Regions from separate parts of the Homo sapiens genome. Here regions 1 and 2 are each linked to region 3. Evidence: promoter capture Hi-C in 16 types of primary human blood cells and fetal thymus (Javierre and others, 2016). All regions are on one chromosome and are shown on one strand. The core of a region is centred on a gene start or on the middle of the fragment in contact, and the rest is flanking DNA. Distances in the headings are between cores, read along the strand shown. Region 1 overlaps ABCA5 (ATP binding cassette subfamily A member 5). Region 2 has its middle 6.4 kb from the start of PRO1804. Region 3 holds the start of FAM20A (FAM20A golgi associated secretory pathway pseudokinase).

What was found. The method cuts DNA at HindIII sites, captures the fragments that hold promoters and counts their contacts. A CHiCAGO score of 5 or more calls a contact.
Region 1: a contact is called between a fragment that was not itself captured here and the fragment with the promoter of FAM20A in region 3, in 2 of 17 cell types (erythroblasts and monocytes). The highest score is 6.1, in erythroblasts.
Region 2: a contact is called between a fragment that was not itself captured here and the fragment with the promoter of FAM20A in region 3, in 2 of 17 cell types (M0 macrophages and monocytes). The highest score is 7.6, in M0 macrophages.

The regions. Positions count from the first base shown.
Region 1 is chr17:69,263,827-69,268,215 of GRCh38, forward strand. It overlaps ABCA5 (ATP binding cassette subfamily A member 5), which reads right to left. Exons shown (of 39, transcript NM_172232.4): 23 at 4,117-4,230; 24 at 909-1,079. Among named protein-coding and RNA genes, the nearest start is that of PRO1804, 31 kb to the left of the region's middle. The HindIII fragment of the contact is 492 bases long and covers 1,071-1,562 here.
Region 2 is chr17:69,238,965-69,243,841 of GRCh38, forward strand. It overlaps a transcript of ABCA10 not described here. Among named protein-coding and RNA genes, the nearest start is that of PRO1804, 6.4 kb to the left of the region's middle. The HindIII fragment of the contact is 527 bases long and covers 2,601-3,127 here.
Region 3 is chr17:68,598,595-68,603,450 of GRCh38, forward strand. FAM20A (FAM20A golgi associated secretory pathway pseudokinase) reads right to left here and starts at 2,773. Exons shown (of 11, transcript NM_017565.4): 1 at 1,669-2,773. The coding sequence starts at 2,072. The HindIII fragment of the contact is 2,926 bases long and covers 62-2,987 here.

The DNA of each region.
Region 1 (4,389 bases), core at 67-2,566, 660 kb after region 3:
GCTGGGACTACAGGCGCATGCCACCACGTCCAGCTATTTTTTTGTATTTCTAGTAGAGATGGTGTTTCACTATGTTGACCAGGATGGTCTTGATCTCTTGACCTCGTGATCCACCCGTCTCGGTCTCCCAGAGTGCTGGGATTATAGGCATGAGCCCCCGCGCCCAGCTTATGTAGGATTCCTTTAGCCATCTGGGTACTTTTGGGGTTCCATATGAATTTTAGAATAGCTTTTTAAAATTCTGTGATGAATAATGTTGGTAGTTTGATAGGAATAGTGTTGAATCTGTAGATTGCTTTGGGCAGTATGGCCACTTTAATATATTGAGTCTTCTAATCCATGAGCATGAAATTTTTTTCCATTTGCTTGTATCATCTCTGAATTCCTTCACCAATGTTTTGTAGTTCTCCCTGTAGAGATCTTTCATCTCCTCTGTTAGATGTATTCCTAGGTATTTTAATTTTTTGTGGCTATTGTAAATGGAGTTGTGTTCTTCATCTGGCTCGCAGCCTGCCCATTATTGAGATAGAGAAATGTTAAGCTATATTTTAAACTATGGAATAAAAGAGCTTATCCTTTGTGAAATTATTTTCAGGCATAAGAAAAACGAAGGAAGGCATTTTAAGGAAGGAATATATTAAAACGTTCCTGATTACACCCAAGTAGGTGGTCTACATGAAAGATCACTTTAGTTTCAAGAAATTATTTTAAAATGGTGGTAAGTTATTGTTTTTAAAAGTCACTTATCATATAAAATGATTACATGTATTAAATACCAGACACACTTGCTCTATTTTCTTTAACAAATTAATAACCAAATTATGCAATAAGTCAACTGTCATGTTTATAACAGATTTTAAATAACATTCTATCTATAAATAGCATGAGTACAACTAACGTTAACTTACCACAGCAAGGAACTTTACAGTATAAAAATATAATCCATAATGAAATGCCAATAAGCTTCCTAGCATCAAAATAAGAATGATAAAAAATAAGGGGATATCAACAACAGCTTGTCCAATCCAATATGCAGATGGCAAAAGACCTGAAAGTTTAAGTTGAGTATAAGCTTTGATCTAAAAAAAATGAAAAACAATTTATTATAATTTTAGACACTTTAGAAACACACAAATAAATTAGTAAATTATTGTAGATCTCTTAATTTTACATCAGCAAAACCAAAAAGGTTACATTCCAGGCTTATAGGTAATAAAAGTCCCCCTCACACTAAATACAAATTCCATTTAGCCTTTAATTTGGCTCATTATTTCTGAGATGTAACAATTTCAACAAAATTTTTAAGAATCAGAATACAGTAGTGCTGCCAAGAAACTGAGATTAAAATAAAGCAAAAGGTGTCATGGCGGTTGGGGTTACAGCTATACAAATAATAAATAGCCAAAACATTACTACTTTTGAAATACTGTGGAAACAGATGGGAAGACATGTTTACACAGAAAAAGAATTCTCAGTTTTAAAAATGAACCTTTCATAAATAAAAACACTAATAAATTGCCAAGTATCCTTTGGATTTACATAAGGCTTTCAGCTTAAGTGAAAGCTTTTGAAATGTTCAAAGCCTTTTGTGTACACTGGTATAGCATATAAATCTAAGGTGTTATTTACGTCACAAGTTTGTTAATGGTAAACTCAAATGATCATAGTTTTCCTATCTCATGTTCTCATTTAATTTGAAATTTCTAAAATATTTCATAAATCCAAATACCTAACAATTTTATTTAGTTGATTTTTGTCATCTATAAAAATATCTACTCCTAATAACTGAAGGTATTATATGAAAGAGCTGTCCACAGAGATAAAGGAAGCATGAAATATAAAGATTAGTTAAGAAGAGGAGAAATGAACAAAATTGGCAAGTTTTCTGTTCAATGAATTATGAGAACATGAGACACATGTAAATTCTAATACAAGAATAAAAACATAAGCTAAGGCAAATGCAATTATTTTGGATAATTCAAACTTTTGTCATTCACACACTGCTGGTAGGGATAACATAAAATGGAACACTCATCTTGGAAAATAATTTGGCAATTTCTTATAAAATTAACATGTATAATTCAGCAATTGCACTCTTGGGCATTTATCTCAGAGAAATGAAAATGATGTTTACACAAAACCTGTATGCAAATGTCCACAGCAACTTTACAAAAGCCAAAAACGGAAAACAATCCAAATGTTCTTCAACAGGCAAATGGTTAGAGAAAGTGTGATGTATCCATACCATGGAATATTACTCAGCAATGAAAAGGAATGGATTATTGATAAATACAAATAGGATGAACTTCAAAAAAAATGCTATTTGAAAAAAGCCAATCCCAAAAGAAAACTTATTGTGATGCCATTTTACATTTTTGAACTATCAAAATTACAGAAATAGAGAACAGAGTAGTGGTTGCCACAGGTCAGAGAGGCTAGGAAAGAGCAAAAAATGGGAATCTTTTTGGTGACAGAAATGTTCTGTATCTTGACTGTGTCAATGCCAATACCCTGTTACATTGTACTATAATTTTACGAGATGTTATTATTGGGACAAAATGTAAAGAGTACACAGGATCTCTCTGTCATTTCTAACAAACAAACATGAATATACAACTATCTCAAAATAGAAACTTTAATTAAAAATAAGTTAGTGGGTGCAGTGCACCAGCATGGCACATGTATACATATGTAACTAACCTGCACAATGTGCACATGTACCCTAAAACTTAAAGTATAATAAAAATATATATATATATAAATAAAAAAATTAAAAAATAAATAAATAAAAATAAAAAATTTATATTGGAAAAAAAATGTTTCAGTTGAAACAAGAAAGAAAATGCAAATGTCCAGTAAATTTTATTATTGTGCAGTGGGTTATGGATTTCTATATTCCTTATACTTTTCTATAATTTATACATTACTACAATGAGTATATTTAACAAAAATTGAATATTATTTTAAAAATAGAGATATGTGTTACTTTTATAGTAAACAAATAACAAAATTTTTATTAGAATGTATTTATTTATTTTATTTATTTATTTATTTATTTATTTTTGAGATGGAGTTTTTGCTCTTGTTGCCCAGGCTGGAGTGCAATGGCATGATCTCGGCTCACTGCAATCTCCGCCTCTCGGGTTCAAGTGATTCTCCTGCCTCACCCTCCTGAGTAGCTGGGATTACAGGCATGCACCACCACGCCCTAATTTTTTTTCTATTTTTAGTAGAGACGGGGTTTCTCCATGTTGGTCAGGCTAGTCTCGAACTCCCAACCTCAGGTGATCCGCCCACCTCGGCCTCCCAAAGTGCTGGGATTACAGGCGTGGTCCACCACGCCTGGCCTACAATTTATTTTTTTAGAATTTATTAAAATAATGAGCTCATTATTCATCACAGTCTGTAAATTAATTTAGACAAATTTGTTTTTACTGAATTAAGATCATCCATGAAGAAGATCAGAATTTTTATTAGAGCAGTAAGATATAATCTCAGCAGAGTGAAAAAGTGGGAGGCTTTGAACAACCAAAGACTGTACAAGATCGCTATATGCCTGAAGGAAAACAAAAGGGAAAGGCGTAAAAAGAAAGTGAAAGAATACCAAAGAACCTCTGTATACTTAGCAATTTCTCCAAGGCCCTAATGATGACAATCACTTTCATCTATTTTTTTTCCATTAATAAGAATTTAGCACCTTGACTACTTAATACCTCTGTTAAAGGATAAAAGGGACGGGCATGTTAGTTTGCCAGTTAAGAACATAAAGATCACAGTCACTTCCCAAATCCACAATTTAAACAAGTTGAGTCAACCTGAGCAAGTCATATGAACAATCCCATCTTTGATTTCCTGATCTATAAGAAATCAGTAACAAAAAACTTACCTCACAATGTTGTGAGAATTAGAGAATATAATTTTTAAAGCATGTAGCAAGTCTCAAATAATAAATATTAATTATCACTTATTACAATAAGAAACTATAATAAATGTATTTATATTCCATTTACTTATTTCTGAAATAACAATTATACTAAGCCTTGCAATCAAGCAAATAGGTTATTTTTATATGACACTTCTTATTAGCAAATTATATATTTTTAACTGAGTCATTACCTTATGATTCTCTGCATTTTCCATGGCAAAGTAAGGTGGCATTGCAGTAACAATGATTCCAAGCAAAGCTGCTTGAAAATACAGCTCAATTTTAAAAACTATATCAGTAATTTCCTGAAAGACAACCACAGAGTAACAAATGGAACTGAGAATCATTTTATATCTTAAGATATATCTTAGGATATATCTTATATCAAAAAAAAATCAAAACCTCAGAAAGAATGTATTAGAATATCTAACCCAGGCATAGTCTACATGAAAGAATGAGTGGCA
Region 2 (4,877 bases), core at 1,614-4,113, 640 kb after region 3:
ATAACTGTGGATCACTGTCCCCATCCCCCACAGCCTAGCTGTTGTCAAAGATAACATGGCCTAAAAACTAAAGCAGTGAAAACAAATTTTATTTGGTAACTACTGACAGTAGGGGAAAGAGCTGAGCTGCCTTCTGATCTGTACAGAGGTGATTGGGGTGTTTAAAAAGGAGAGTGGGAGTAGGGAGGTTGTAGGGGCTCAGCAGAGTCAGAGAAATAGAAAAGTACAAAGGGTTGGTCAGTGTGAATGTGATTAGGTCAGCTGTGTTTCTTAGCTGGCAATTATCAGTTAGGATTCTATCCTCTCACAGAGACTGGAAGACAGAGGCCTTATCCTTCTTGATAACTATTTTTAAAAAGAATGGTTCCCAGGTCGTTGGAGAAAGAAACATGTGAGCTGCAAAAGATACATATTTATAATTGTAAGCTCCTTTTAGTAAATAAATGCTCTAAGAAATCAGATCAGGGGCCTGTTATCATGTGTTGGCTACAACAAAAAGTAGATTTTTCTGGTAGTATTGAGCTTTCTCAGACTGTTATTTAAATGGGGGTAGGGACCTGCGATCACCCTACAGACACTGCCTTATGCTGCTAGAGGCCGTGCTAAAATTTGGTCAAGTCTCTCAGTGTCAGGCTTTCGACAGAGTTGTTCTGTGTTGAGAGCTCTGCAGTTCTTTTTACAGTAATTGTGTCCCCATGGTTTCTTAGGTTTCTAATTGTTGAGTGCTGCCACCCGGCCTCTATTAGTCAGGATTTTATCACCCCCATTGCTCTCTGTGAGCCCAGTGTTATCATGGTATCACTTACCATCAGCTCACAGGACAGCCACCTCTAGCTGTATAGTGACGTTGGCGTGCCCTTCAATAGTACCTTCCTTGTTCGTTTGAATTTAGTCATCTACTGTGTTTTCCAAACTCATATAGTACACCCACGCAGGATGCCTGGTTTTCTGGGTGTTTTCACCCTTTTCTTGCATCATGTACCATGGCTTTTCAATATTTATACATGACATTGGGTGGGCAATTGCTTTTTCCATGCAGGAAGCATCTTAACAGTGTGTTCTTGCTAAGAACCATCTCTTGGGATTCTTGCCAGGACATTAAAAATCCTTTAGGCCAGAAGAGTACTCTGAATAAACTCTTATCCAACTTTATGTTCTGCATTGTTTGATCATGCACCCTTAAAATCCAGTCCCATGCACATTCTCCTAGCTCTTATGGGTAGATGTGGCTAGCTCCTGCAGCTCTTGTGTGATACAGTACATTTCTTCCCTCAGAAATACCAGCACAACTTTCGCCAAGTTACTTTATGTCTTAATCCTTGTTATTGGCCATTAGGAAGGAAGTTAGGAGCAGATCCTGGAATGGGGCTTGTATTAGTTTGCTAAGGCTGCCCTAGGGAGTTGAAAAGTGTGACCCGTTTGATGGTAGCACTCTCAGAGGCAGGAGAAATAAGTTCTTTATTTCTGAAGGGGAATATAGGCAGTTCATTTCAGCATCCACAGGAGCCTGAACAATGGGCCATTCTATGGTCCCAGAATAGAGGAAATGGAGGGTTTGGAGTGGCTAACCTAGTTTCCAAACTAAAGCACTCTTCGGTTGGTACAGTGAAATGCAATTTCTTTAGTAAATAGTACCATGTGGTGAGATTTTGGTGGTCTGTCTTCTGACTGTGATATTAACTTGTTTCTGTAGAACTCTTCAGCTGCCTGACTTCTCTACATCATCAAGCCTCCAAGGGATGGGCCCCTTCCAAAGTTGTCTTCCTCTTTCCCAGCAGTGCTTTCCCAAGAAATCAATCACAAACTCAATTTCACTTTACAATTTCCTTCTTTTCAGTTCTTCAGTAGCTAAGATTTGTGCCACTGGGTCTCAAATCTGTTCTCAGAATTTCCTTACTCTGGGTAAGACCCCTTGCCTTCTGGCAGTGTGCTTCAGTTAACATTACCTATGTTTCACTACTGCTAGGGCCTTGCTGTACCATCAATACCCCCTGACTCTCAGCTTGTGAATGGGTTCCAAAACTAACACTGCTCCCAGTATTTATTTCCTTTGCTCACTGGACATCTCCACTTGGATGTCTAATGAGCATCTCAAACTTAACAAATACAAAACTGATCTTTCCCTCAAATCCTCAAACCTAAACTTCCACGGTCTTCTTCATCCACTTGATGATACTAGTAGAAGATACGTTCAGAGACATAATTGCTGATAATTCTACTCTTCCAGAGGCTCAGACAAAACAAAAAACAAAAAGCCCTTGTGTCATTGACTCCCTTTCTCCCATACTCCATGTACTATAATCTCCACCTTCTCAATATTCAGAATTAGACCACTTCTTATTCACCTTCCTGATTCAACTCACCATCTCTTGCCTCATCAAATGCAATGGCCTCCTAACAGGTCTCTTGTGCTCTGTCCCCTCATATCTGATTATTTTCAACACAGCAGCTAAACTGTTCCTTTCAAATATGCCTAATGTTGCCACACCTCTACTCAAAACCCTCCAATGACTTCTGATCTCATTGAATGTCAATAAAATGTCCATAAGGGCCCTTTCGATCCCATCTTCCACTAGTGTCCCCCTTAATCAGTTAGCTAAAGCTTCACTGGTTCTGTTTCTCAAATATGCCACTCACACCTTGCCTCAGGGCCTTTGTACTTGCAGTACCAACTCACCTTCTCAGTGTAGTCTTGCCTACATGAGATCAGTGTGCTTTCATCTGCAGCACCAAGAGTCCTTATCTCCCTCCCCATCATCTAACATACTATGTATTTTTTTAAAGTAGGTAATTTGTCTTACTATAATAAAAGCTCAGTGAGGGCAGAGACTTTTGTCTATTGTTTCAATAATGTATATGCCTAGTGCTTAGAAAAGTGCTTGATTCTTAACTGACATACAATAAAATATTTGTGAATACTGAATAATAATGAAAAGCAGTCTTTCTTTGAAACTTAAAGACTTTAGGCACCATCATAGACGGCTCTAAAAACTATCTAGTGTCTTAATTTGGTGAAGGTAAATTCAAAGGATGCCTACTTACTAAAGAATTAGAAGATACAGATAAGGCCTTTTAAAATTAGCAGATATGATAACACTAGAAGCTGAGATTTCTTACCAATTTGTAAAGCTTGATGTATAATTTTAATCTCATTCTATCACAAACTTGATTTCATGTACACTGATGTATGAGAATTTAAATGTAGTCAACAGAAAACCAATATCAACTACATCATAATCACATAACAATATCAATAGTATAATTTGGCCAAAGAAATTACTAGCCAATACATATACATCACAACTAGCACTCAACATCTTTTCCTACAACTATATGACAAAGATATGTTAATAAATAAAAATTAGATAAGGTGAACCAAAACAATAATGGTATTATTCTGTCAGTAAAATGACTATAGTATTATGGTTAATTAGACATATAAGAATTACAAAACAGAAAGGAAAGTAAAATTGCAACCCAGGTGAGGAATTCATTTTCTTTCTTTCTGTTTTTTTCTTGAGACAGAGTCTCGCTCTGCCGCCCAGGCTGGAGTGCAGTGGCGCGATCTTGGCTCACTGCAACCTCTGCCTCCTGGGTTCAAGCAATCCTCCTGCCTCAGCCTCCCAACTAACTGGGATTACAGGCACGTGCCACCACACCCAGCTAATTTTATATTTTTAGTAGAGACAGGGTTTCACCATGTTGGCCAGACTGGTCTCGAACTACTGACCCTCAGCCTCCCAAAGTGCTGGGATTACAGGTGTGGGCCACTGCACCCGGTCTGAGGAATTCATTTTCATTAATTAAGCACGTTATACTATAGTCACAACACAGAAGCTGGAAAGTCCTATTATCATGAATTTGGATGAAACGTAATAATAAAACCTAAAAAACATCTTGTTTTAGCGGAAAATACTGGGTTGCAAAAACCTGAAACTTAGATTGGGTTAACTCACAACTTAAAGCTCAAAAATCAAAGTTTGAACATAAAAGAAGGGCCACCTCAACAGTTGCCAGTTTAGTCTTAGAAGGCAGATCCAGGTTCTATGCTTATATCATTATTTAGTTTAGTTGATAGATACCCCTTGATCAGTCCCAATTGTTAACTGAGAAACCTAATTAGCATCCATCTCTTGGTCTCAAATTATCAAAGGGATAAATTTTGATAGTGTGAGATAGCTCTTTTATTGGCAAATGTGTAACTCTGCAAAGGTATATATGTAGACACGGTGAAAAAATTACTTCTGATTAGTGTACTGATACTGTATTTATTTGAGAATCTTGCACACACATCACGTAACAACAGGGATATGTTCTGGGAAATGCATCATTAGGCAATTTTGTCACTGTGCTAAGGCAATAGCCTATTACACATCTAGGCTATATGATACAGCCTGTTGGTCCTAGGCTACAAACCTGGACAGCATGCTACTATACTTAATACTGTAGGCAACTGTAACACAATAGTAAATATTTGTGTACATAGAAAAGGTACAAGAAAAATACAGTATTATATTTTATCATCTTACTATGTGGCCCATTTTTGACCAAAATGTTGTTATGCAACACATTACTATATTTATGCAAGTGTGGCTGCAAGCCTTATAACCAGGAAGTTTTGTGTATTTTGCCTATTTTTACGATGCTTGAAGGCCAGGTACAGTGGTTCACACCTGTAATTCCGACACTTTGGGAGGCCAAGGCAGGAGGATCCCTTAAGCCCAGGAGTTTGAGACCAGCCTGGGCAACATGGCAAAACCCCATCTCTACAAAAAATACGAAAATTAGCTGAGTGCAGTGGTGCATGCCTGTAGTACCAGCTACTCAGGAGGCTGAGGTGGGAGGATCACCTGAGCCTGGGAGCTTGAGGCTGCAGT
Region 3 (4,856 bases), core at 1,523-4,022:
AAGTATGTGTGTTTTTGCGAGTTTTTTTTGTCTTTGTTGACACATAATGGTGTAGAAATCAAGCTTAAAACTGATTGTAGAACAGTTTGGTGAGAAAGATTTTTGCTTTTCTGCCATAATATTCCCCTGGACTTTGCTTCGGGTCCAAAGTAACACCGGGAAGTTTAAGACCACAGAAATGTGACTAAATGAATGCTGATCACATTTACAAAAGCAAGTGACTTTGTCCAAAGTCTCTCATTCTCAGATCCATAGTAGACATATAGATACTTTTTCTAAGGGCAAAATTTCCTGGTTCACTAAGCCAGACTTCCATGTTATTGACGAAATAAAGATAATATTGAAAATGACAGTGTCTGAGAAGCAATCTCAAACTGCCTTTTATTACTGCACACAGTTAACGTGGAATTGAGAATCACTTTCTTTCTAACATAAAATGTGAGCCGTAGAGTTACTACTGAAATTCACCACAGTGATTCAGCCAACAACTCAACTTATTCCTTTGCAAAAATTTCTGAAGGTTTTTTTTTCTCCCTTCAATCTCAGCATTACAAAATAATGAGCAAACAGTTAAATTGGCCCAGCTCTGAGTTTCAAGAGAGATTTATGGTCTGCTCATCCTCTGGAGGGACCATAAAACCACCGATGACATCTTACTTTGAAATCTCTTGTATTAAGTAAAGAGATGGGTGTGGTGCGATAGTGAACTCTGCATGTGAGTGGTATTTAGACAAGTTCTGTACTTCAAAACAGAGTCCTTAACTCATACGAAGGCTTCCTGCCACTAGCAAGGGATCTCAGTAATGAGCGTGCTGCCTTCCCTAACACCCCCATCCTTTTCCAGAAAGATTCTTAATTTTATCCTAAATATATTTGATATTTTTTCCTCTGTATTTTGCTTTGGGTTTAAAAAATTCCCTGAAAGATTTTTTTCTCGTCTGTGGAAGCATCAAGCCGCAGATCCAAGTCAGTCCAAATCACCAGGATCATACAAGACGATAAAAGTGCCTTCAAGTTCTAATACTTGCTGGATGGGCCCAAGCCGCGTTTTAAATGTGAACAATGGGGTGGCTGCGGCAGAGAACTGACCATTTACTTCCTGCCTCAGATGACCCCCTTGTGATCTCTGAAACTGGGCAGAGGAATAAGGAAAGGGAAAGAACTGGGTTTTGGGGAGAAACATGCTTTCTGGAAGGCGCCCAGGTTTACCCAAAGAGCACAGTTAAGTGCTGAATTTCAACTAGCTCTGGAGTCACCCTGTTTGGGGCCTCATTCTGGAAACCCGAAGTCCAGCGGCAGCTTTCCTCCACATCAGGACAGAGAGTGGGGTTTGGGAGCGGACGAGGGAGCGGGAGTGGACGAGGGAGCAGGAGTGGGGCTCAACGACGACCCAGGCGCTCAAGGGGAAGGGGCTGAGAGCGTTTCTTCGCTGTGCGGCTGCAATAGAAACTTTTTCCTCGTACTATCTGACTCCGGGACTGGACTGTGAGGTCTGCAACAGCTGGTGGGGTTCGGGTGGGGAACACACTCTAAGCCCAGCGCCAGGGCTGGAGCCGTGGGTGGAGCCGCTGCAGCCCTGGGCCGGGGGCGTCAGGAAACTCGAGACTGGGGCGCGGGGAGGCCCCGGCCAGAGCGCCCGCTCTCCCGCGTCCCGGGCGGGGTCCTCACCTGTTCCAGCGGGCCACCTTCCTCCGGTAATACCGCAGCGCCTCCTGGCTGGCCAGGAGCGAGTCCTCGGCTCCCAGGAGAGGCGGCTCCTCCGGGACGTTGTACAGCGGGTGGGCGAAGAGGGCCTGCAACTTGGAGCTCGACCCGCTGTGGCTGCCGCCAGCCGGTTCAGTCCGGGGCTCGGTTCGGGAAAAGTTGTGCACGATCGTGCCGGGGTCCGAGGCAGCTGCGGCCGAGTCCCGCGCCAGGGAGGAGGCGCGGCCGGTGCACGGGCACCCCCGCGGGCGCTCCCGAGGCCGCAGCTGGCGCTGTACTTGGGGCCAGAGGTGGAAGTAGAGGTCGGCGGAGAGCAGCGCGCCCAGCAGCAGCAGAGTCAGTAGGCGGTCCCGGCGCAGCCCCGGCATGGCGTGCTGGCCAAGGGGGACGCCGGGGGCAGGCCGGCTGTCTCCGGGGTCCCGGGAGGGGTCGCGGGGTGCGGGCAGAAGAGGTGCCTGGAGTCCCGCGGGTGGGCCGGGGTCAGTGAGACCGGAATGCTCCCCGCGCGGGCTAGTCCCCTGTGGAGGGGTGTCGCTCCTCAACTTGGGGACCAGGTGCACGGAGCACCGGGGCTCTCGGAGTCAGCGGGCGTCGCTTCTCCGCGCCGAGTGAGCCGAGGGAATGGGGTTCCCGGGGTGCCCGCTTCTTGCGCCTTTTCTCCCGTGCGCCCGCCCGCCCGGACGCTCGCGGCAGGTGAAGGGCCCCGGGGCGCCGGCGCCGGCTGCCACCGCGGGCGGACGGGCGACGGGGCGGGGGGCGACCGCGGAGGGCGGACGGAGGCCGCCGGCTGCAAAGCCCGGGGCGTCTCTCCTGAGGATGCTGTCGCTCGGCGGCGGCTGCTAGTGCTCCCGCGACTCCTCCTGCGGGCGGCGGAGACGCCAGTGCCGGCGGCTGGCACGGGCGGCGCGAGTGGGGAGTTGGCGAAGCAGGAGCGGCTCCGGGGAGCTTGTCTGTGCGCCTGGACTCCTAGAGGCAGAGGTAGCGCGGGGCCTCCCCGAGCCTGGCCTGGCGCCGGCACCCCCACCCACTCTCCGCTGGCACCTGCCTCTGGCGCAGCTGACGGCCAACTCCCGATCCGAAGCCGGCGCTGCCCTTGCACCTTGTCACCCACCCACTGCCTGCGCCCTCCCCCTCGCTCGGGCCTCCCACTTTCCCTGCCCAGGTCTCAATCCAGTCACTTTAAGGGACTCACGCGAGGGGTCCGAAGCCTCTTTTTACCATTTCTATTATTTTTAGGGAAAAAAAAACCACCACAAGCCCCCTAAAACCCTTTTTTTCCTGTAAGCTTTGCCAAATGAGTGTGTGGGGGGGGGTGGGGGGAGGCGGGGGTGGCAGTGTTGGTATCTGTTCTTTCTTTGTGTTCCCTTCCACCTCCGCCCCCCTGCAGAGCGCAGGGCACATCAAGATTCATAACAACTACCTACCACATGCCTGGCACATAGTAGGTGCTCAGGAAACACGCTCTTGGTGAAGGAAAGAGCTTGACCTTTAAAAGTAAGGTATCAGTTTTACCTAGAATCTTGCTGATTTCCTGTTTGGAAGGAGTTTGATTCCAACTCTGCCTGTACTTTAAAAAGAGGAAATGTTTCTTGCACTCAGGGAGGGAGGGGCCCTGATGACCCCACTCCGAACTTTTGAGTTTAGCTTGGTGTGAAAGTAGTCCACCCAAATGAATCACTGGAGGACACATTTAGGCTTTCTCCAATATTCTGTGAGGTAATGTACCCTCCCCACACCCAGTTTTCCTTTTGAAGAAGAGGGAGGGAGTCCTGAACTCCTGGCTCCTCTATTTAATGACCCCATAGTATAGTAAAGTGAAGTCTGATTGGAGAGGCGGCCCCACCCTGCTGAATTTCAGGAAATCCACCAGAAGCTGCTTGCCCAGGCAGCAAAGCTTCCCATGTAAGTTAGTTCTACTCTTTAACCCCCTCCCTTCCCTTGCTGGAATTGAGAACCCTCAGACATACTTTGACTTGTGGGTTCAGACCAGAGTTCTTTTCCCCGTGGTTCAGTGTAAGATTTCTTCGGGACTTTGCAGTCTCCTCAAATGTAAATGAAGATAATGATGGAACCTACCTCCTAAGGTTATTATGAGACTTAAATGAATTGAAGTACAATTATGTGTCACGTCTGAGAAATGCATCCTTAGGCAATTTTCCTGTGTGTGTGAACATCAGGGTGTACTTACACAAACCTAGATGGTTCAGCCTACTACACACGGAGGCTACATGGCATAGCCTGTTGATCCTAGGTACAAACCTGTACAGCATGCGACTACTGAATGCTGTAGGGAGTTGTAACACAGTGGTGAGTACTTGTGTGTCTAAACATAGGAAACATACAGTAAAAATACAGTATTGTAATCTTATGGGACCACTGTTGCATTGACTAAAATGTTATGTGGCACTTGACTATGTATAAATTACTTAGAAGAGCTCCTAACTCATCCTAAATAAGTGTGAAATATGTGTTTGCTATCATTATGATTACTTATTAGTTCCTGTAGTACACTAGGCTTGGTTAGAGACTGCTCATCGCTAGGACAAAAATAGAAAAGGATGGAAAAGGAAGATAGCAGGAAGGAACCTGCTTTCAGGGGCATAACATTGTGGCCTGAGTGCCCAGTCCAAGTGAAAAAGCCCAAGACGGTACTATTCCCAGCTACTCCACTCCTCTGGGTATGATGGTGGGCATTTTGAGGGGTTCTAGAACCTCCTCCTTTTTATCTGGAATTAAATTTTAACTGATTTCCAATTTCTGAGAGACGTTGCAACTTCTAATGTGTTTAATTAGATGTCATGGCAAGCGAATGAAGAAGTCAGGCATTGAATGGTGGTGATGTAACTGCAGTAACTGTGTGGCAAACTGATGCGCATTTTTCTCGGCTGGCAAAGGACGTGGATGTGGTGACACTGCAGGTCTTGTGACTTCAATTCTCCTCAACCCATGGGGTCATACTCGCTTAGTAGACTCTTTTTTTTCTGGCCCCAATTTAGGGAACAATAGTGTAACTTGCTTGGAAATTATGTAAACATATTTTCCATGCCCTTTAAAGGTCACAGTCAAGTGCAGAACTGCATGTGGGAGTTAGATATTAAGTGTGAATGAAGCTGGATAGGAGAGTGGAAATCCTACCAGTAGGATTGGCCAAT